Regions from separate parts of the Homo sapiens genome. Here all the other regions are linked to region 4. Evidence: promoter capture Hi-C in human tissues and cell types (Jung and others, 2019). All regions are on one chromosome and are shown on one strand. Each heading gives the region's core, a stretch centred on a gene start or on the middle of the fragment in contact. The rest is flanking DNA. Distances are from core to core; before and after follow the strand shown.

Region 1 (6,387 bases), core at 1,788-4,287, 100 kb before region 4:
AAACAAATTTACCTAACTGTGTTCCAAAATAATAACACGACCACAGGTAACAGGGGAAAACAACCCCGTTAACAGAGAGCTTTGACCATACTCCATAGTAAAATGAGGGTTGGCAAACTAGGGTCTACAGGCCAAATCTGTCTCACTGCCTGTTTTTGTAAATAAAGTTTTTTTGGAACAATGAATTATTTATGGCTGCTTTTGTTATACAATGGCAGAGTTAAGCAGTCATGATAGAGACCATGTCACCTACAAACCCTAAAATATTTACTCTGGTTCTTTACAGAAAAAATTGGCCAACTCCTTCTCTATTGACAAAGAAGTGCATGAACTATATGGACTATATTTTGTATATTTGTGTTTTGTAAGGATGTGGGTCCACAATTCTGAAACTATATTCCTTGCATTTTTTTTTTTTTTTAAGATGGAGTTTCGCTCTTGTTGCCCAGGCTAGAGTGCAATCGTGCAATCTCGGCTCACCACAACCTTTGCCTCCCGGGTTCAAGCAATTCTCCTGCCACAGCCTCTCGAGTAGTTGGGATTACAGGCATGTGCCACCACACCTGGCTAATTTTGTATTTTCAGTAGAGATGGGGTTTCTCCACATTGGTCAGGCTGGTCTGGAACTCCCGACCTCAGGTGATCCACCTGCCTCAGCCTCCCAGAGTACTGGCATGAGCCACTGCACCCGGCCTTATTCCTTGCATTTTAAGATTAAGCAAATGAGTAAATATATTGATGATGCAAGACAGATCTCTCAACTATATAGTTCTTTAGAAATATATACTGAATTATTATATAGCAAAGGGGCATGATAGAAAACAGAGTTCCTCAAAATGGCCTCAGTAAATCTAAATTATCTTTAGTGAAATGATGATACTTTCCTAGTAAGGCGTAGGGATTAGAATCATAGTGAGTATACATGGGGTCCCTTTAACAGGGTGTTAAGTGTAAGGAGCTTTTGGTTCCAGTGTTTGACACAAAATAGACACAAATGAGATTTCTTCTCCTACTGAAATGCTTCTCAGTGATGTAGGGTGTTACATCACTGCCGTATATATATTCAGACTGCAGTCTGAATGACTTGGTATGCTTCTAGATAATCCAAAAAGATGGCAGCGAATCACAGTCAAAATATCAAGGCAAAAAGTTCACGTCACAAAGTACCAGAATGACCACAAGTCTTATAAGAGATGACGGGTCAGAAATAGAAACAAATAATGAGTTACTTTGAGAACCCAAGTAAACCAAACAGACTCAGGGAGTGCTCAGTGACAGCAAGCAGAGCCTGACAGCTGCTGAGAGCCTCACCCATGGCAAGGCTGCCAGACAAGCAGCTTTGAGCACATACGGCTCAGTCTACACACAGCTGTGTTCCTCTGGCAGTCCAGCAGTTCCAGCACTGGTCGGTGCCTTGTCAGAGCAACCAAAGGGAAAACACATTGTCAAAAACTAAAACAAAGACCACAAAAGGTCAAAAAATCAAATGGCACAAATCATTTACTTAACAGGAAAGGAGACACAGCAGTGAAGAAATTCACTGTATAGTTTGGCAAGGGGGAAAAATAAAAGGTTTTACTGTTAGGGAGCAGTTTCATGATGGTTATGCTAATTAAGGTTTGAAAACTAGCATTCCAGATAGGATAGGATGAGTTTTTAAGGACAGATACAGTTGATTATAAAGATTCCAGTGTTCATTAGTTAGGCAGAAGTCTTCAGTTAGGCCCAGTAGGGTCTGGGGCCAAGTACGTGGTCATTTCTCAGCATCAGTTGGATAGATCATGTTGTGATGAAATGCAACATCTAGTTTTGATATTTTGTAGGCAGGTGCTGCTGTAAATGAAAAGTTTTTCTTTTTACTGATTTATGAAAAGTGGAAAGAAAGGCAGATTTTGTTGTTTTGGCTTGGTGCCAGAATCCTAAAATCATGGACCATGTCTTTCTTGTTCATTACTGAATTCATAATACTTAGTAGAGAACCTAGTACTTTGGCATTTTCTAATAAGTCTTTGTTTACAGGTGGGCAGCCTGAAATTTATATTTGTTTTATATACAATAATTTCTTTAACCAGTATTCCATACACTTTCTCCTACATTCGGAAGCCCTCCAGAATGAGGGACTTTTTATGTCTATCAGACCCTTTTTTATATAATAAGAAAAGTCATGAAGGAGATTTCCACATGTGTCATAGAGACCACTATCTCCAAGCAGAACAAAGAGCTGTGGACAGTATATACCAATGTGAATGTCTATGGCTTAGGAGAAGGCTAACTATGATTGAAGCTGTTTACAGAGCAGAATACTCACTTGAGAGGTTCCTGGTTTCTCAAGATATTTTTGTTATGGATTTTCTGGATTGCAATAGAAAATGTGATGGAATGTAAAGGAATCATTGTTCAGAAGCAAATTGTGTTATACTTATATTATCAATTATAGGCATGGCAGTAAAACATTCTCTGTCCTAAGACAAGGCAGAACAACTCAGCAGCCCTACTTATGGCTACTCTAACAGAAAACTTTCATTCTTCAGCAGAACCAAAGCCAGAAATCTACACTTGTTCCTCCTGCCTTCTGGCCTTCTCCTGTCAGCAGTTCCTCAGTCAACATGTACTTCAGATCTTCCTGGGCTTATGTGCAGAAAATCACTTCCATCCAGGGAATTCTAGCCCAGGGCATTGGAAACAGCAGGGGCAGCAGTATTCCCATGTAAGCTGTTGGTTTGAAAATGCAGAAGGTCAGGAGAGAGGAGGTGGCTCCAAACCCTGGTCTGCAAGGACAGAGGAGAGAGAAACCTCAAGGGCATTCCCCAGCCCACTCCAAAGACAGTCAGCAAGTCCTAGAAAAGGCAACATGGTGGTAGAAACAGAGCCCAGCTCAGCCCAAAGACCAAACCCTGTGCAGCTAGACAAAGGCTTGAAGGAATTAGAAACCTTGAGATTTGGAGCAATCAACTGTAGAGAGTATGAACCGGACCATAACCTGGAATCAAACTTTATTACAAACCCGAGGACCCTCTTAGGGAAGAAGCCCTACATTTGCAGTGATTGTGGGCGAAGCTTTAAAGATAGATCAACCCTCATCAGACACCATCGTATACACTCGATGGAGAAGCCTTATGTGTGCAGTGAGTGCGGGCGAGGTTTTAGCCAGAAGTCCAACCTCAGCAGACACCAGAGAACACATTCAGAAGAGAAGCCTTATTTGTGCAGGGAGTGTGGGCAAAGCTTTAGAAGTAAGTCCATCCTCAATAGACATCAGTGGACTCACTCAGAGGAGAAGCCCTATGTTTGCAGCGAGTGTGGGCGAGGCTTTAGCGAGAAGTCATCCTTCATCAGACACCAGAGGACACACTCCGGTGAGAAACCCTATGTGTGCCTGGAGTGTGGACGAAGCTTTTGTGATAAGTCAACCCTCAGAAAACACCAGAGGATACACTCAGGGGAGAAGCCTTATGTTTGCAGGGAGTGTGGGCGAGGCTTTAGCCAGAACTCAGATCTCATCAAACACCAGAGGACACACTTGGATGAGAAGCCTTATGTTTGCAGGGAGTGTGGGCGAGGCTTTTGTGACAAGTCAACCCTCATCATACACGAGCGGACGCACTCTGGAGAGAAGCCTTATGTGTGTGGTGAGTGTGGCCGAGGCTTTAGTCGGAAATCACTCCTCCTTGTCCACCAGAGGACACACTCAGGGGAGAAGCATTATGTCTGCAGGGAGTGTAGGCGAGGTTTTAGCCAGAAGTCAAATCTCATCAGACACCAGAGGACGCACTCAAATGAGAAGCCTTATATTTGCAGGGAATGTGGGCGAGGCTTTTGTGACAAGTCAACCCTCATTGTACATGAGAGGACACACTCAGGAGAGAAGCCTTACGTGTGCAGTGAGTGTGGCCGAGGCTTTAGCCGGAAATCACTCCTCCTTGTCCACCAGAGGACACACTCAGGGGAGAAGCATTATGTTTGTAGGGAGTGTGGGCGAGGCTTTAGTCATAAGTCAAATCTCATCAGACACCAGAGGACACACTGACGGGAGAAACCTGTGTATGCAGGGGTCATGAACAAGACCTGAGTGACCAGTCAAGCCTCATGTTACCCCAGAGAGACACATGGGGAGTAGACCCTGTGTACACAGATTGTGAGTGAAGTTCCAGAGATGTGTCAGCCCTTATCAGGCATGGGAGGGACACGTTCAGGAGAGGAGCCTTATGAGTATAGAGTACGGGCAACTGTAGCCATCAGTCAGCCTTGAGCATGCACAAAAGGACACACTTAGGAGAGAAGTTTATGTGTAGGGACTGTGGGAAGGCTTTAGCAATAATCAACATTTACCAGACATCCAATGACAGCCTCAGGGGAAAGCACCCTTGTCTGGGGAGTGTTGGGGAGCATCAGTAAAAGAATGGACACTCAGGCACAGAGTGGCCCTCAGGAAGGAGGTCTTTGTTTGTAGGATGTATGGGCAAAGCTTTTGTGATCACACACCACAGGGAGAATCTGCATGTGGGGACACTGTGGAGCTCTGCCCAGATGACCTTTTCAGGGGTAACACCCCAGCTGCTTGAGAGAACAGTGTTGCTGCTGGCAGAGATGCATTCCAGAGATGCACTCCGCTCTGGAACTCACTCTCAGCCACAGGGAGCTGCATGCACCACAGGGGCAATGCACCTTTGCAGGGGTACCTTCTGGCCCCAACCCTTGACTCAACGGGGACAACTCCAGAAGGTCATTCCAGATCCAGAGATCCCCATCGAACTGAAGGATCACTGGGTTGCAGACACATTGCAGGTCAGCTTCTTCCTCTGCCCAGTCCTGCCCTCACTCCCCAGTGAATCCTCAATTTTCTGTCTCGTTGTCTGTCCAGATAATTGATTCTAAGACATGTTAGGTATATAAGGAGTGTAGATAAGGCTTCAGCCATGAGTCACCCCGCAGTAAGCCCCAGAGTATATTGAATAGAAATTCTGCATGTGTGGGGAGAATGGACAAGGACTTAGGAAAAAGTCCTCATCAAAGAACAGCTTTTTTGGGACAAGCTTTACATGGGTGGGGAGGGAAAATGTGAAACACATTAGCAATAAGTTAAACCTCATCTTGTACTAAAGGAGGACACACTCAGGGAGAAGACCTCTGTGGGCAGGGCTTGTGGGTGGAGCTTCATCCCGATGTCACTCCTCAACTGACTTAGGAGGACAGTCTTGCTACCCCAAGTCACTACCTCACTCACCTCTGAGGGATTTTCAGGAAATGTCTTGACTCCCCCATGTACTCTGTATGTGAGCGAAGATGGCAGTAACTGTTAAATAAGCATTCTTTTCTACTTCTTGGAATCAGATGAAATAAAAAAGCAGGCTTTATTTAAGTAATCAAAAAATGATCAACTTGTTTTATTTTCATATACCAGTTCTTTCCCGTGTTTTCTTATCCCTTTGTTTTAGTTCAAAATTTCTTCAATAAGTTCAGGCTGTGTAGCTTGGCCACTCATCTGACTGAAAGGGTGCAAGGAATTCAAATTCACAGTCAGGGTTTCCTGCATAAATTCAACCCTTGAGAATCAATCTAATAGATTTTTTTGGAGAATTTGATCCTTTTCATGTGGAGGAGTGATTAGGTTCTAGAGACAGGCCAGTTGCAGGGAGGGGATTTTCCAGGTCTCCAGGGCTGGGCTGCCTCTTCTCCAGACTGATCACTTTCTTCAGCTTCTGTGAAAGCTTCCTTCCCTAGGTATTCTCTCTCTCTCTTTGTGTGTTTCTCTTTCTCTCCCCATCTTGCCTTCTCTCTTTTTCTTTCTTTCTGCAGGTGTCTTTGCTGAATACTTCTCTATTCCACTGAATTTTTGCAGTCCTTAATGATCTGCTCATGTCCTCCAGTTCCAGGGACCCTTTAACCACATCCCCTCTGCAGCCTTCCAGATTGCAGAGGCAGGTCCTTTAACCATGCCCAAACTGTTCTCTAGTCATGAGTCATTGCTTTGGGCCTCTTAGCTACTCCCCATGTCAGATCAACAATAATAGATGTAAAGACCCCTAAACATAGCTCCGATACCATGTCCCCTTGGCCCTCCAATTCTAGGGCCCAGTCCTGCTAATGATACCCACACATCATCCCTTTAATAACTGGTCTGAGGCAACCTAGCCATACTCCGTCCATTGTTTTTCAGGCCAAGGATCTGCCCTTTAGCCACACCCTTTTAAAATCTTCCTCCCTCAGAGCCCAAATTGCCCAGACTTTTGAATAAACTCCACATGCCCTGGCTCTGATTTTCTGTCTTGGACCAATAACTATTCACTGGAGAGGGTCTTCCTAGGCTCCAGCAACTTTGTTTGCCCAATTGGAGTTTGCAAGATCCATAAAATGCATATCAGGCTTGGAAAATCAGAAGAAGCATGA
Region 2 (5,895 bases), core at 766-3,265, 110 kb after region 4:
CTCCCATTCTTAGACAACAACTCATTTCCCTGTACCTAGGCAACTAGTAATCTACCTTCTATCTTTATGGATTCGCCCATTCTGGATATTTCTTGTCAGTGGAATCATACCATACTTGGTTTGTTTAGAGAGAGGTGGTATCCATTAGCACCTAGCTTCTAGATTCAATAGATACCAAGTTATTTGGTAAAGGTGGGGGCTATAAGATCTCTCCAATGTAAAGATACATTTATTGTTTGTAATTAGTAACAAAACTGTGGGGTGATATTTTGAGACTATGAATATTCTGTTTCCTAACAGCATATCATCTAGTGGTTTTAGTGTCCATTGAAGATGCTTGTGTAAATCAGTGAGACATTGGGATTACAAAGTAGTCATTTTCTATTACTATCATATCTTCAGGAATTATTTAGTTCATAGTATTTCTAATTCAGACGTATTGTACACAGTTTGTTCTTCTGTTTTTTGTTTGTACCTGTTTTCTCTCACTATGAAAGTCTTGGTTCCTAATAACAAATAAATGTTTTCTTTTATTTTAAATATAATTAATCATATCAACATATTTACATTATCCTATAATGTACATTATAATGGTCCGGAAGTCTTATCATACCTAAAATGTTTCACATTACAGTACCAAATAGGAATGCTGGATCATAGGATAAAAGCATATATGATTTTGTTAAATAATACCAGATTCACCCAATAGGGTTTTACCATTTCGCATTCTTGCCAGCAATGTAAGAGTTTCTATTTTCTTACAGCCTCATCAGTATAGTGTGTTGTTAAGCTTTTGAATTTTTGCCAAATAGATGAGAAATGGTATATCTGTGTAGCATATATTTTAAAAACTTTTCTATTATGGAGATTTGTGAACATCCACAAAAATAGAATAGTGTAACCAATCCCATGAACACCATCATTTAGCCCCAGCAACTACCAACCCAACCACCAATGCCTCCTCCGTTTATTCCCTTCTCTCAAATTATTTTGAAACAAATCCCAGATAATATTTTTCTTTTCTTTTTCTTTTCTTTTCTTTCTTTCTTTTTTTAAATTTAAATTTAAATTTTTTTTATTATACTTTAAGTTCTAGGGTACATGAGCTCAACATGCAGGTTTGATACATAGGTATACATGTGCCATGTTGGTTTGCTGCACCCATCAACTCCTCATTTACATTAGGTATTTCTCCTAATGCTATCCCTCCCCTAGTCCCCCACCCCCCAACAGGTCCCAGTGTGTGATGTTCCCCACCCTGTGTCCAAATGTTCTCATTGTTCAATTCCCACCTATAAGTGAGAACATGCGGTGTTTGGTTTTCTGTCCTTGTGATAGTTTGCTGAGAATGATGGTTTCCAGCTTCATCCATGTCCCTGCAAAGGACATGAACTCATCCTTTTTTATGGCTGCATAGTATTCCATGGTGTATATGTGCCACATTTTCTTAATCCAATCTATCATTGATGGACATTTGGGTTGGTTCCAAGTCTTTGCTATTGTGAATAGTGCCGCAATAAACATACGTGTGCATGTGTCTTTATAGTAGCATGATTTATAATCCTTTGGGTATATACCCAGTACTGGGATTGCTGGGTCAAATCGTAATTCTAGTTCTAGATCCTTGAGGAATCCCCACGCTGTCTTCCACAATGGTTGAACCAATTTACACTCCCACCAATAGTGTAAAAGCGTTCCTATTTCTCCACATCCTCTCCAGCATCTGTTGTTTCCTGACTTTTTAATGATTGCCATTCTAACTGGCATGAGATAGTATCTCATTGTGGTTTTGATTTGCATTTCTCTGATGACCAGTGATGATGAGCATTTTTTCATATGTCTGTTGGCTGCATAGATGTCTTCTTTTGAGAAGTGTCTGTTCATATCCTTTGCCCACTTTTTGATGAGGTTGTTTGTTTCTTGTAAATTTTTTTGAGTTCTTTGAGGATTCTGGATATTAGCCCTTTGTCCGATAGGTAGATTGCAAAAATGTTCTCCCATTTTGTAGGTTGCCTGTTCACTCTGATGGTAGTTTCTTTTGCCATGCAGAAGCTCTTTAGTTTGATTGGATCCCATTTGTCTATTTTGGCTTTTGTTGCCATTGGTTTTGGTGTTTTTAGTCATGAAGTCCTTGCCCATGCCTATGTCTTGAATGGTATTGCCTAGGTTTTCTTCTAGGGTTTTTGTGGTTTTACGTCTAAAATTTAAGTCTTTAATCCATCTTGAATTAATTTTTCAAGGTGTAAGAAAGGGATCCAGTTTCAGCTTTCTACATATGGCTAGCCAGTTTTCCCAGCATCATTTATTAAACAGGGAATCCTTTCCCCATTTCTTGTTTTTGTCAGGTTTGTCAAAGATTAGGTGGTTGTAGATGTGTGGCATTATTTCTGAGGCCTCTGTTCTGTTCCATTGGTCTATATATCTGTTTTGGTACCAGTACCATGCTGTTTTGGTTAGTGCAGCCTTTTAGTATAGTTTGAAGTCAGGTAGCATGATGCCTCCAGATTTGTTCTTTTTGCTTAGGATTGTCTTGGCAATGTGGGCTCTTTTTTGGTTCCATATGAACTTTAAAGTAGTTTTTATCAGTCCTGTGAAGAAAGTCACTGGTAGCTTGATGGGGATGGCATTTAATCTATAAATTACTTTGGGCAGTATGGCCATTTTCACGATATTGATTCTTCCTATCCATGAGCACGGAATGTTCTTCCATTTGTTTGTGTAAATTCTTTTATTTCATTGAGCAGTGGTTTGTAGTTCTCCTTGAAGAGGTCCTTCACATCCCTTGTTAGTTGAATTCCTGGGTATTTTATTCTCTTTGCAGCAATTGTGAATGGGAGTTCACTCATGATTTGGCTCTCTGTTTGTCTGTTAATGGTGTATAGGAATGCTTGTGATTTTTGCGCATTGATTTTGTATCCTGAGACTTTGCTGAAGTTGTTTATCAGCTTAAGGAGATTTTGGGCTGAGACGATGGGGTTTTCTAGATATACAATCATGTCATCTGCAAACAGGGACAACTTGACTTCCTCATTTCGTAATTGAATACCTTTTATTTCTTTCTCTTGCCTGATTGCCCTGGCTAGAACTTCCAACACTATGTTGAATAGGAGTGGTGAGAGAGGGCATCCTTGTCTTGTACTGGTTTTCAAAGGGAATGCTTCCAGTTTTTGCCCATTCAGTATGATATTGGCTGGGGGTTTGTCATAAATAGCTGTTATTATTTTGAGATATGTTCCATCAATACCTAGTTTATTGAGAGTTTTTAGCATGAAGCACTGTTGAATTTTGTCAAAGGCCTTTCCTGAATCTATTGAGATAATCGTGGTTTTTGCCATTGGTTCTGTTTTTGTGATGGATTACTTTTATTGATTTGCATATGTTGAACCAGCCTTGCATCCCAGGGCTGAAGCCAACTTGATCGTGGTGGATAAGCTTTTTGATGTGCTGCTGGATTTGGTTTGCCAGTATTTTATTGAGGATTTTTGCATGGATTTTCGTCAGGGATATTGGTCTATAATCCTCTTTTTTTGTGTGTCTCTTCCAGGCTTTGGTATCAGGATGATATTGGCCTCATAAAATGAGTTAGAGAGAATTCCCTCTTTTTCTATTGATTGGAATAGTTTCAGAAGGAATGGAACCAGCTCCTCTTTGTACCTCTGGTAGAATTCGGCTGTGAATCCATCTGGTCCTGGACTTTTTTTGGTTGGTAGGCTATTAATTATTGCTTCAGTTTCAGAGCCTGTTATTGGTCTATTCAGGGATTCAACTTCTTCCTGGTTTAGTCTTGGGAGAGTGTATGTGTCCAGGAATTTCTTCTAGATTTTCTAGTTTATTTGCATAGAGGTGCTTATATTATTCTCTGATGGTAGTTTGTATTTCTGTGGGATCGGTGGTGATATCCCCTTTATCAGTTTTTATTGTGTCTATTTGATTCTTCTCTCTTTTCATTTTATTAGTCTTGCTAGCAGTCTATCAACTTTGTTGATCTTTTCAAAAAACCAGCTCCTGGATTCATTGATGTTTTGAAGGGTTTTTTATGTCTCTATCTCTTTCAGTTCTGCTCTGATTTTAGTTATTTCTTGCCTTCTGCTAACTTTTGAATTTGTTTGCTCTTGCTTCTCTAGTTCTTTTAATTGTGATGTTAGGTTGTCAATTTTAGATCTTTCCTGCTTTCTCTTGTGGGCATTTAGTGCTATAAATTTCCCTCTACACCCTGCTTTACATGTGTCCCAGAGATGCTGGTACATTGTGTGTTTGTTCTCATTGGTTTCAAAGAACACCTTTATTTCTGCCTTCATTTCGTTATTTACCCAATAGTCATTCAAGAGCAAGTTGTTCAGTTTCCATGTAGTTGTTCGGTTTTGAGTGAGTTTCTTGATCCTGAGTTCTAATTTGATTGCACCGTGGTCTGAGAGACAGTTTGTTGTCATTTCTGTTCTTTTACATTTGCTGAGGAGTGCTTTACTTCCAATTATGTGGTCAATTTTAGAATAAGTGCGATGTGGTGCTGAGAAGAATGCATATTCTGTTGCTTGGGGGTGGCGAATTCTGTAGATGTCTATTATGTCTGCTTGTTGCAGAGCTAAGTTCAGGGCCTGGATATCCTTGTTAACCTTCTGTCTCATTGATCTGTCTGATATTGACAGTAGGGTGTTAAAATCTCCCATTATTATTGTGTGGGAGTCTAAGTCTCTTTCTATGTCTCTAAGGACTTGCTTTATGAATCTGGGTGCTCCTGTATTGGGTGCCCATATATTTAGGACAGTTAGCTCTTCTTGTTGAATTGATCCCTTTAACATTATGTAATGGCCTTCTTTGTCTCTTTTGATCTTTGTTGGTTTAAAGTCTGTTTTATCAGAGACCAGGATTGCAACTCTTGCTTTTTTTTTTTTTTTTTTTTGCATTCCATTTGCTTGGTAGATCTTCCTCCATCCCTTTATTATGAGCCTATATGCGTCTTTGCATGTGAGATGGGTCTCCTGAATACAGCACATTGATAGGTCTTGACTCTTTATCCAATTTGCCAGTCTGTGTCTTTTAATTGGGGCATTTAGCCCATTTACATTTAAGGTTAGTATTGCTATGTGTGAATTTGATCCTGTCATTATGATGTTCGCTGGTTATTTTGCCTGTTAATTGATGTAGTTTCTTCATAGCATTGATGGTCTTTATAATTTGGCATGTTTTTGCAGTGGCTGGTACCGGTTGTTTCTTTCCATGTTTCGTGCTTCCTTCAGGAGCTCTTGTCAGGTAGGCCTGGTGGCAACAAAATCACTCAGCATTTGCTTGTCTGTAAAGGATTTTATTTCTCCTTTACTTATGAAGCTTAGTTTGGCTGGATATGAAATTTGGGGTTGAAAATTATTTTCTTAAAGAATGTTGAATATTGGCCCCCACTCCCTTCTAGCTTGTAGGGTTTCTGCCGAGAGATCAGCTGTTAGACTGATGGGCTTCCCTTTGTGGGTAGTTCGACCTTTCTCTCTGGCTGCCCTTAACACTTTTTCCTTCATTTCAACCTTGGTGAATCTGACGATTATGTGTCTTGGAGTTGCTCTTCTCAAGGAGTATCTTTGTGGTGTTCTCTGCATTTCCTGAATTTGAATGTTGGCCTGCCTTGCTAGGTTGGGGAAGTTCTGGATAATATCCTGAAGAGTGTTTTCTAACTTGGTTCTATTCTCCCCATCACTGTCAGGTACACCAATCAGATGTAGATTTGGTCTTTTCACATAGTCTCATATTTCTTGGAGGCTTTGTTCGTTTCTTTTTACTCTTTTTTCTCTAACCTTGTCTTCTCGCTTTATTTCATTAATTTGATCTTTAATCACTGATACACTTTCTTCCACTTGATCGAATCAGCTATTGAAGCTTGTGCATGTAGTTGTCATACCACGGTTT
Region 3 (4,044 bases), core at 1-2,500, 85 kb before region 4:
ACCCTCTTCAGGGTAAGTGCTCAGCTCCCCATGTGGGTTTGGGGCCAGTGATTTTTGTTGGCATTTATACAAACAATTGGAGATATTGTCTACTTTGCTACAATTCCGTAAGTTATTGGCTAACTCCCTTGCCTTGAGTCTCACAGATCTTAAGCTTTTGGCCCATTAAAAGATATGATTTAGCTTCCCATCATGTTTTACATTCAAGGCTACTTGAGGCACAAAAAGATGATGTGACTTCCGTGGCCAGCAGCTCTTTTGTCATATGCAGTGTCCATATTATTCTGTCACTCACTTTGAATTCCCTTTGATTCTCCTTGGGGCTGATTTCTTCTGTGACCCAAGGTCAAGAAGTATAGTTTAAAAATGTGGTAGGGATGCCTTGGTGCCAGGTACGTATTAGAGAGGGGCCAACAGATGAGCGTGGAGCTACTCCAAAGTTCCCTCCTGATTATAAAAAATGTTTATTGGAAAATATTTTTGAAAATACAAAGAAGTCTATGAATAGAAACTAAAATACCCCGAAGGGTTTTTTTCTAATTATGAAAGGACAATACATGGTTATTATTTTAAAAAATAAGAAAATGTGAGCCAAAAAAGGGAAAAACTGTCCATCCACAGACAACCAGTTAATATACTGTAAAATATCAAAACAAAATCTTTTGAGTTCTTTTTTTAAATCAGGCTATTTTTTCCCCTTTATTTTTAGGATCTAGCTTTAGCTTTTTTCCCCACTTTCCTATCCTGTTGCAGTTATTTTTCCTACTTCACATTTATATTTTGTTCATCTTTTTCTGGTTGTTGCTTTTTGGGGGTTTCTGTTTTTATGCTTTTGAGGAACAGATATGAAATTTCAATTTCTGTGTATGTGAAATTTCTCTTAACCTTTTCCTTCTATGGCTTCTCCTATTTCTGATGTAAGATGAGGGGCAGAATTATAGGCCTGTGAGGTTGAATTGATATTAGAAGGACACTGCACGTAAGTGAGGTGGGTGGGAGTCATTTGATTGGAATTGTTTAGGCAGCCTCCTGATGTTGGCAAGACCTTAAGCTGAAGGGAGGGAATAGGGTCCTAAGAAAGAAGACTTGGCTGAGGGAAGGGCCTTCACGGTTGCTGTGGAATAGCATTTGGGCCCGGGCTGGGCTTTGTTGACCTTGTCCTATCTCTTGGTCAGTGTGTCCTCTTGGCATGGTAGGAAACAGGTAGATAGCCACCTAAGAGGTTATGTGTTCAGCCTGTAGAGACTATCCAGGAGGGCTATCTTGGGAAAGTTTGTGTACTGTTTGTTAGGAGATGCAGTATAAGCAAATCTTGGAGGCCACTAGGCAGGTGAACTTTACCCACCTCTAACACTTTTTTTGTTCCTTCTAAACCTCTCTTTAGGCCAAAGAACTCCAAACAAGCAGAAAGGGAAGAGAAGCGAGTCCTCGGTCTGGTGCTGCTGCGAGGGGAGAATCTGGTCTCAATGACAGTAGAGGGACCTCCTCCCAAAGATGTAAGTCAGAGCAGGAAGCCTTGTGGAGGAGGGGAGGCCCTACTGTGAGCCAGGCTCTGTGTTAGATTCTGTTTCATTGCAGTTCTCACAGGCATCCTCTGGATTTTGCCCCCTTTTTCAGATAATAAATGAAATCTTAAAGAGGTTACCCTGCAAGAGGCCGGGCGCGGTGGCTCACATCTGTAATCCCAGCTCTCAGGGAGGCAAGAGGCGGGAGGATAGCTTGAGCCCAGGAGTTCGAGACCTGCCTGGGCAATATAGCGAGACCCCATTCTCCAGAAAAAGGAAGAAAAAAAAAAAGACAAAAAAAAAAAAAAGAGGTTACCCTGCAAGAAAGAAGTGGAAAAGGGGAACTAGAATTTGGGTATCTCAGACTTTAAAGCTCTACCTGTTTCTCAGTTGATGTACATAGTGAGTCAGTGGAGGAAGCACCTGAAGCCATCTGGGTCAGTTCTTAATGTGACGACAAAGCCTAGGTAGACCTTAAAAAGTTGTAACTCCGAAACAATAGGAAATGTGTGTATTTTGTTTTGTACAGTTACAGTTCATAGTTACTGAGAATCTACCTTGCGCCAACCACTTCAGTATTTTATTTGATCCTTTAGGTCTCTTTAGAGATAAATTCTCATCTTATAAATAGAATAAACCAGGGCTTAGTAACTTGCCCAAGGTGCCACAGCCACTAAGTGGTGAAACTGACATTTGATCTCAGACAGTCTTGATTCTGTAAACACCAAGCTACACATAGAAATAGAGCAGGCTTTAGAGACCTAGTCAAATTTGTTTTCCCTTTCCCTTTTTCATTTGAAGGGTTTTTTTTTTTTTTTTTTTTAGATTTTTAGATGGAGTCTCGCTCTGTCGCCAGGCTGGAGTGCAGTGGCACGATCTTGGCTTATTGCAACCTCTGCCTCCCGGGTTCAAGTGATTCTCCTGCCTCAGCCTCCCGAGTAGCGGGGATTACAGATGTGAGCCACCACGCCCTGCCAAGACGTTATTTTAATCAAAAGAGAATAATCCTTTTAACTTTTTAAAAATCCACATATATTATCTGGATTTTTTTGTACTTAACACATAGTGGGCATATATTATGTTGTTCTGTGTTTTCACTTAATGTTAACATTTTTCTAGTTGCTCAACACTTTTAAAGTCAAGTTAATGACTGAGATTTTCTCAAATGAGTACAGAGTAGTTTATCCTAATCATTTTCTTTTTTGGAGATTTTTACGTTTTTGCCTTTTCCAGTTAAAAATGTCTGCAAGGGATGTTAGCATATCTTGGTTCAAAGTCCATGTACATATTCAAATCTCTTAGTACCTACTTCCAGTAGAATTGGCTGGTCTAACATAACCCATCATAAACCTTTGTGATCACAACCAGTTGTACCATAACCATGTCATTTGCAGATAAGGCAACTCAGCCCGGGATTGTGGGATTATTTGTCCATTGTCACCTAGCGGATTAGAATCAGCTGGGAATGGATCTCATGTCCCTTTAATGCCTTGCCTGCTGAACCCTGAGTGGAACCCTGGCCCTTTGCTCTTGGTTTAACTTTCACAGGAGTGCATATAGGTGGTTGAGTTGTGGCATGTTTCTCTAGACTTACTCTTAAGTTCTACCCTGCTTCAGGGATAACTCATAGTCTTGGATGGAGGAAGAATGGTGTTGGCACACATGGAGAGGTAGTATTTATAAGCTATTTCGATAGTATTTATAAGCTATTTCGAGGGGCTCTCTTGGCAATGATATTCCAAAGTATACTTCTGATCTTCAGATCACTGGGCATCAGAGCATATTTGTTTATTTTTCAGACTGGTATTGCTCGAGTTCCACTTGCTGGAGCTGCCGGGGGCCCAGGGATCGGCAGGGCTGCTGGCAGAGGAATCCCAGCTGGGGTTCCCATGCCCCAGGCTCCTGCAGGACTTGCTGGGCCAGTCCGTGGGGTTGGCGGGCCATCCCAACAGGTGAGGAGTTGGGGAAAGGGTACCACCTCCTGGTGGCTAAAATAAAGGATAAAGGGGAGGGTCCATAGTTTTAAAAGGGTCCAGAGTGACCAACCTGTGATTGTCAGACTATCAGTGTTTCACTGTGGTTTATACATGGCCCTAGAAGCAAGTGAAAAGGATAAGTTGCCATTGTAAATTATGTTGATGCTATTAAAGAGATGTACGAATTAGCCAACTGTATTTAAGGAAAATATTTCCATGACAGCATTTGAAATCATGAGTCATATTTGAAAATGCAGTTGCCTTCTCTCACTTGGATTGGACATGCTTACATTCAGGTCTAGAAGATGGGAGTTGGGCATTCAAGCTTGATCTTTCCCGACATGTGGTTTTGGATGGGAAGTCTGGTGCTGAGAGTTGTAGCATTAAGGGATTTGGTGTCTGTTATTTCCCACTGTCCTTCCCCAAGTTGGGGAGGAGAGTGGGAAGCTGCATTGTACTGTACTCTTCTAACTCTTTCTTCTTATGTCCTCTTAGGTGATGACCCCACAAGGAAGAGGTACTGTTGCAGCCGCTGCAGCTGCTGCCACAGCCAGTATTGCCGG
Region 4 (5,670 bases), core at 2,883-5,382:
GATGGGAGAGGCAGCATCTGCTCTAAGACTGCTCCAGTTGACAGTGAACCCAAGGCCCTGAGGACAGAACTGGCAGCCTGTTTTCAGCTCTGGGGGCCTTCACCCTTGGGGTATGCAGGATGAGCTCCCAGCCCAAGGCTAAAGGCTCGCCAACCCCAGGGCTGAGGCTGTACCCCCCAGGCACAGGGAAAGGATGTGGTAAGAGTGCTCCCTCCACCTGCCTGTTACCCCAAGCCTCATAGCCCCTCCAGCTTGTCTGCTCTCCTCCCCTTCTCCCTCTCATCGTCTTCTCAGCGCTTCCTTTCACTCTGCACAGCAACTAGAAGCCTGATTTCAGAGGCACACACTTGAGCTCACATGCAGGCTTTGCCCCTCGTTGGCTGTGTGGCAAGTGAGTGAGCTCTGAAACTCAGTCTCCTGGTGACAATGAGGGTGATGATCATACCCGCTTCCTCACGTTGGGAGGATTAAGTGAAATAATTCACATAGAGTATTTAGACTGGTACCAGGCACATACTAGGTTCTCAGGAAATGTGAGTGGTATCATCATTACTATTTACACAAGACCTCCTAGCTGCCATTCCTGTGCTCTGCCAATTCATGACATCCTGAATCATCTACTTGTTGGCTGTGTGGCCCTGGATCTGAGGATCCGATTTCCTTCTCTGGAAAGTGGCAATAATAATATCTTTCGTCTAGGGTTTCGAGGAGGATTAAATGGGGTAGTAATTATACATAGGGTAGTGATAAAATGCACCACTTAAAGCAGGAAATTCTGAGAGTGAAAGGAGAAGCCATTAATAAACACGCTAGGGCAATGGGCTTCCACCAGGATCAACGTCTCCCTATTCATCAGGTACGTAGCCTGGTGCTGGGTCCACAGTGATGAGCTCTACGAACAGGGATTTTTTTTTTTTTTTTTTTTTGAGACGGAGTCTCACTCTGTCGCCCAGGCTGGAGTGCAGTGGCACAATTTCTGCTCACTGCAAGCTCCGCCTCCCGGGTTCATGCCATTCTCCTGCCTCAGGCTCCCGAGAAGCTGGGACTACAGGTGTCCACCACCATGCCCGGCTAATTTTCTGTATTTTTAGTAGAGATGGGGTTTCACCGTGTTAGCCAGGATGGTCTCGATCTCCTGACCTCATGATCCGCTCACCTTGGCCTCGCAAAGTGCTATGATGACAGGAGTGAGCCACCGCGCCCGGCCTACAAACAGGGATTTTTACATCATCACTCCTTTCCCACATCTCCCCCATCACTTTGGTCCTCCCCTCCCCAATTCCTACATGCACGGGGTTTCTTGTTATTCTCCCCTCTTTGCTTCTCGCTTAAGCGACTGTATGGCCCCAACAGCTTCAGAGTGTTTTTCAGCTCAACCTGTTCAATCCATCCCATCACTATGGAGAAACTGAGGTTCAGAGAGGAGAAGGGACTTTTCTGAGTGTCAGCATGTCATTTTCCCTGCTCAAGCACCATGGAATCTACAGCCATCTTGTTGGCATTGAAGGTCCTTGACAGTCAGGCCCTGCCCATCACTTCTGGCCCTCTGACCTCCTCCCCAACTAATTTGCTCACCAGCTGGCCCCAGAGCTCCACCTAAGAAAGGGAAGGGTCCATGTGCAGAACATTGCCTCCTGCCGACTTAGCTCTCCACCCATCCCCACCCCCAAGCCTAGCTCATCCATCTTCCTCCTCCTGCCCTTGGGTGATACCAGAGAGCTGAATGATACAATCCTCCCCAATTCTTTGTCTCAGGCCAGTGGGCTTGAGCCCTGGAAACTCTGTTGAAGCCAGTGGCATCTTCCAGACTCTGGACTAAGCATAATTGGTTTTTAATGGGCCCCATTATAATCCTATGCTTAGTACGCATCATGAGCACCTGAACTCCATGACTAAATGATTTATCGAGAGTTGCCTGGGGCCTTTCTGGGGCCACTGCCCCATCTCTCTTTCCTTCCTGGTCTTGTTGGAAGCTGCTGGCCTCTCTTTCACCAGGAGGCAGTGACTCATCAACTCCAACCCAATGTCCCAGCCAGAGCCAGCCTCACATACAGTATTCCACTCAATTCTTGGAATCTCTGAGCTGAAAGATGATTGTAATTTAATCATGGCAAAAGGGTCTCACCTCCTTTGCCAACACTGATCAACTGGTACTTAAAGAGCTGGGTTGAGCATTCTGGGGCCACATCCAGGCTCCAGAGGGAAGAGCTCTGGGGTCAACTAGGGATGTCCACCATGGATGGAGTGAGGGAGGGGGGATAGAAGGAGCTCCAGGAAGATGAATACACTTTCCATCTAGGATCTGATGTCTCAGTCATTCAGGCACAGAGTGTGTGGTAGGCAGGACCTACTGCTCTGAGGAACAGATCCTCCCAAGAAGCCAAGAGGACCCAGAAGACCCAGGAATTGAATCCAATCCAACACATAGTCCATTTACATAGGCATGACAACTCCAATGCTGACATTTCACAGACGGAGAAACAGAGCTTCAGAGAGAGGAACCCAGCAAGTTAGTTACAGACCTGACAATGGGCATCATCATCAACTTTTTTCCTTCCTCAGAAACTAACCTTCGCACTGTCAAGTTTAAGTCTGATAGGTTATCAAAGGCCCAGGGAAGAGGGATCATCTAGGTGAACTTTGAGAAGCAGATCTTGGAGGAACAAAGGCAATCCCCTCTGCACCAGGGCCATCAGGGAGGCAACCCCAGCTCTGGAAACAGGCAGTCTGGGCTGTGAGCTGGTGTTGGCAAGGCCTGGTCTTCAGAACAGACCTATCCTAGGAGCCTGAAGGGCCCAACACGTCCAGCAATGCTGTTAACTGCCAGGAGGAAATATGAAGAGGAAGCTAGACTATGATGAGGAAATTCAAATATCTGCCTTTGAAAGTTAAAAAAATATTTGATTCATAAAACTGTCACATAATGCTGAACAATTAAAACTGGCAGACACAGACTCAGAAACACCCCTTGAATACCTGTGAGTGTAGGACCCCTGGTTCTGCTGACTTGCTCATTACCGGGCCCCAGCATCTAAGACAAGTTCTTGCAGAGGGAGTTTGCTGCTCACTATATTGAGGTCGTGGGGGACACATTATCTTACTTTCTTTTTTTTTTGAGACAGGGTCTCACTCTGTTGCCCAGCCTGCAGTGCAGTGGCACCATCTTGGCTCACTGTAGCCTCTACCTCCTAAGCTCAAGCGATCCTCTCACCTCAGCCTCCCAAGTAGCTGGGACTTTGGGTGTTCCCCACCATGCCTAGCTAATTGTTGTATTTTTTTGTAGAGACGGGGTTTTGCCACATTGCCCAGGCTGGTCTCAAACTCCTGAGCTCAAGAATTCCACCCCCTTCAGCCTCCCAAAATGCTGGGATTAGAGGCGTGAGCCACTGTGCCCGACCCACATTTTCTGAGTCTACTGTTTACAAGTCCCCACTTGAGATGTGTGGTGGGAGAACAGCACACGTGGTCTCACCAACTCCTCACAGCAAGGCTGTGAGATAATTTGCATTATAATCCCCATTACACAGATCAGAAAACAGAGGTACCAAGGGCAAATTTTCTTGCTCAAGGTCATATAGCTGTTTTCACTTGAGCCAGAGCTGCTCTTGCCCTCAAGTGCTTGGGGTGGGAATCAGGCGAGGATGCAGCCGGTGGGGGCCTCTCACTCCTTCCCACGCAGGCCACAATTCCCAACTATGCCCAGAAACGTCTCTGGATCCATGGAATGTGCATGGGGTGCAAGGAGATTTTCTTTTTTCTGCCCCTGCCTTCCTGTGCCTGCCTCCTTCAGTCCTCCGAGGCACAGGGGTGAGACCTGGCCCCAGCCCAGGAGACAGCGCCTGAGCCAGCCTGGGCCATGGCCTTGCTGGGTGGCTTAAAGCTGGCTTTTTCATCCTGGGCCTCATGAATCCACACGAAGAGTTCATGTGTTCATGGTGGACTATCCAGCTGTAAAATCCTAACAATCGATGATCAAACGTCATCCCACAGACCCGTGTTTCTTGAAGCCCCCCTCATGAGCCCTGGTGTCCCAAGGCCCCAGGCTCTGCCCACTTACCTGCCATGTGAAGGCCAGCTGGACTCCTCTGTTCCTCCACACAGCAGTGTGTGCACCGTCAGGACAGTGTGGCGCGTCACAGCAGCCAGCCAGACCAATTTTAACAAGGAAAACCTTGGGACACTCCTAGGCAGGAAAGTCAGAATTCAAAAGAGGAGGCGTGGCCCTCCACCCTAGCAGCGACACCCACGAGACACAAAATCATCCTGTAATTGCACCTAGAGGGGTTCACTGTGGGAGTGGCTCCTGCCAAGAGACCTTGGAAACACGGAGTTGCGAATGGGACTGTGGAGAAACTGAGGCTCAGAAAGGTCACAAGCCTGGCAAGAAAAAGAACGGGGAAAGAGAGAAGACTGAGGGAACTCGGATTTATGGTTGGCCATTCTTAGCCCTCACAACAACCCTCAAATGAGAAAAAACAGGCTCAGCGCCAGGACCCCGAAGTACATGGTTGCACGCTGCAGTGCCGGGTCAGTCTGTGGCTCCCTCTCCCCTCCTGGGTGAGAGCAGAAGACTCCTGGGCCCACAGCTCCACTCTGTTCTGCAGGCATCTAAAGAGGCAGAGGTCCATGATCCTCCTTCAGGGCCACTAGACTTCCTTGGTGGACACTAGACTCTTGAGAGGAGGTAGATAAGAAAAAGGGGAGAGCTGGTTCTGACTCAGAAGCTAGGCCCATCTGCCCTGACTTTGTGAGTGGCCTCCAGCCAGGAGCTTAGAGGCCTGGTGGCCATGGGTGTCCCGTGACCTTGGACAAGACCTCTCCCCTCCTGGAACCCTGGTGTTTCTACCTACAAACTAAAGGGATTGGACTCAATTATTCTTCAGGGCCATTCCAGCTCAAAGTCTAAGATTCTGGGCTTGAAGGTGCTGGAATTCAAGGCATCTGAGGTCTTTTGTTAATGAAATAGAGGGGATTTTATTTTCATGGAAGCCGGTGGGGTAGGTTTCTTTTTGCCGGAGAAATGCTTTGATGGATGACTTGGGGCTATCGAAGGCTGGATGTGGCCTGGGCCAGTGAGGAAGGGGAAGTGGGAGGGGGTAGAATCGAGGGAAAGAGACAAGGAAGGGTAAGGAGACAACCGTGTGCTGAGCACAGTAGGATGAGGCCGCTCCCTGGGATCACCCCAACATTCAGGAAACTGCATAAAAACCCCAAAGTGTTTGATGTGGTTGGATTTCTTACAGAAAGTGGCAAAGAGGCTGAGTTCTGCTTCCTGGTTTCACGCAGATCAAGCGTCTTTAATGAGCTGTCTGCAGACCCACATAGCCTTATAATTACTGACATCTGGCAGCAGCCCAGGGCAGCTCCTTCCTCAACACCCTGCAGGCTGCTGCCCTGTAGACCCTGGGCCCTGCTGAAGCTGCTTTTCTGCCTATGCAGGGTCAGGCTCCTCCCCACTAATGATGGTCTTATTCAGGGCCCTTTTATCTTTCATCCTGGGCTTGCTTGGACGGGAGCTCCCAGAAGACAGGGCATCAAAATCACTGCCTGCCCCACTGCTCGAGACCCCAAATAATAATTCATACTCCTCGTTTTTTTTTTTTGAGACAGGGTCTCGCTCTGTCACCTAGGGTGAAGTGCAGCGGCACGATCTCAGCTCGGTGCAACCTC

The links. The method cuts DNA at HindIII sites, captures the fragments that hold promoters and counts their contacts. A contact is called where the count stands out against the background at its distance.
Region 1: a fragment that was not itself captured here is called in contact with the fragment with the promoter of TGM6 in region 4 in 2 of the 25 tissues and cell types used here (H1 embryonic stem cells and small bowel).
Region 2: a fragment that was not itself captured here is called in contact with the fragment with the promoter of TGM6 in region 4 in 2 of the 25 tissues and cell types used here (aorta and dorsolateral prefrontal cortex).
Region 3: a contact is called between a fragment that was not itself captured here and the fragment with the promoter of TGM6 in region 4, in 3 of the 25 tissues and cell types used here (H1 embryonic stem cells, bladder and mesendoderm cells).

Annotation. Positions count from the first base shown.
Region 1 is chr20:2,480,801-2,487,187 of GRCh38, reverse strand. It overlaps ZNF343 (zinc finger protein 343), which reads left to right. Exons shown (of 6, transcript NM_024325.6): 6 at 2,532-5,371. The coding sequence ends at 4,027. Among named protein-coding and RNA genes, the nearest start is that of SNRPB, 13 kb to the right of the region's middle. The HindIII fragment of the contact is 4,668 bases long and covers 704-5,371 here.
Region 2 is chr20:2,265,781-2,271,675 of GRCh38, reverse strand. No RefSeq gene overlaps it. Among named protein-coding and RNA genes, the nearest start is that of TGM3, 27 kb to the left of the region's middle. The HindIII fragment of the contact is 4,728 bases long and covers 1-4,379 here.
Region 3 is chr20:2,463,160-2,467,203 of GRCh38, reverse strand. It overlaps SNRPB (small nuclear ribonucleoprotein polypeptides B and B1), which reads left to right. Exons shown (of 7, transcript NM_003091.4): 3 at 1,385-1,496; 4 at 3,305-3,457; 5 at 3,977-4,044. Among named protein-coding and RNA genes, the nearest start is that of SNORD119, 2.1 kb to the right of the region's middle. The HindIII fragment of the contact is 5,678 bases long and covers 1-4,044 here.
Region 4 is chr20:2,379,363-2,385,032 of GRCh38, reverse strand. It overlaps TGM6 (transglutaminase 6), which reads right to left and starts at 4,132. Exons shown (of 13, transcript NM_198994.3): 1 at 4,058-4,132. The coding sequence starts at 4,064. The HindIII fragment of the contact is 30,296 bases long and covers 1-5,670 here.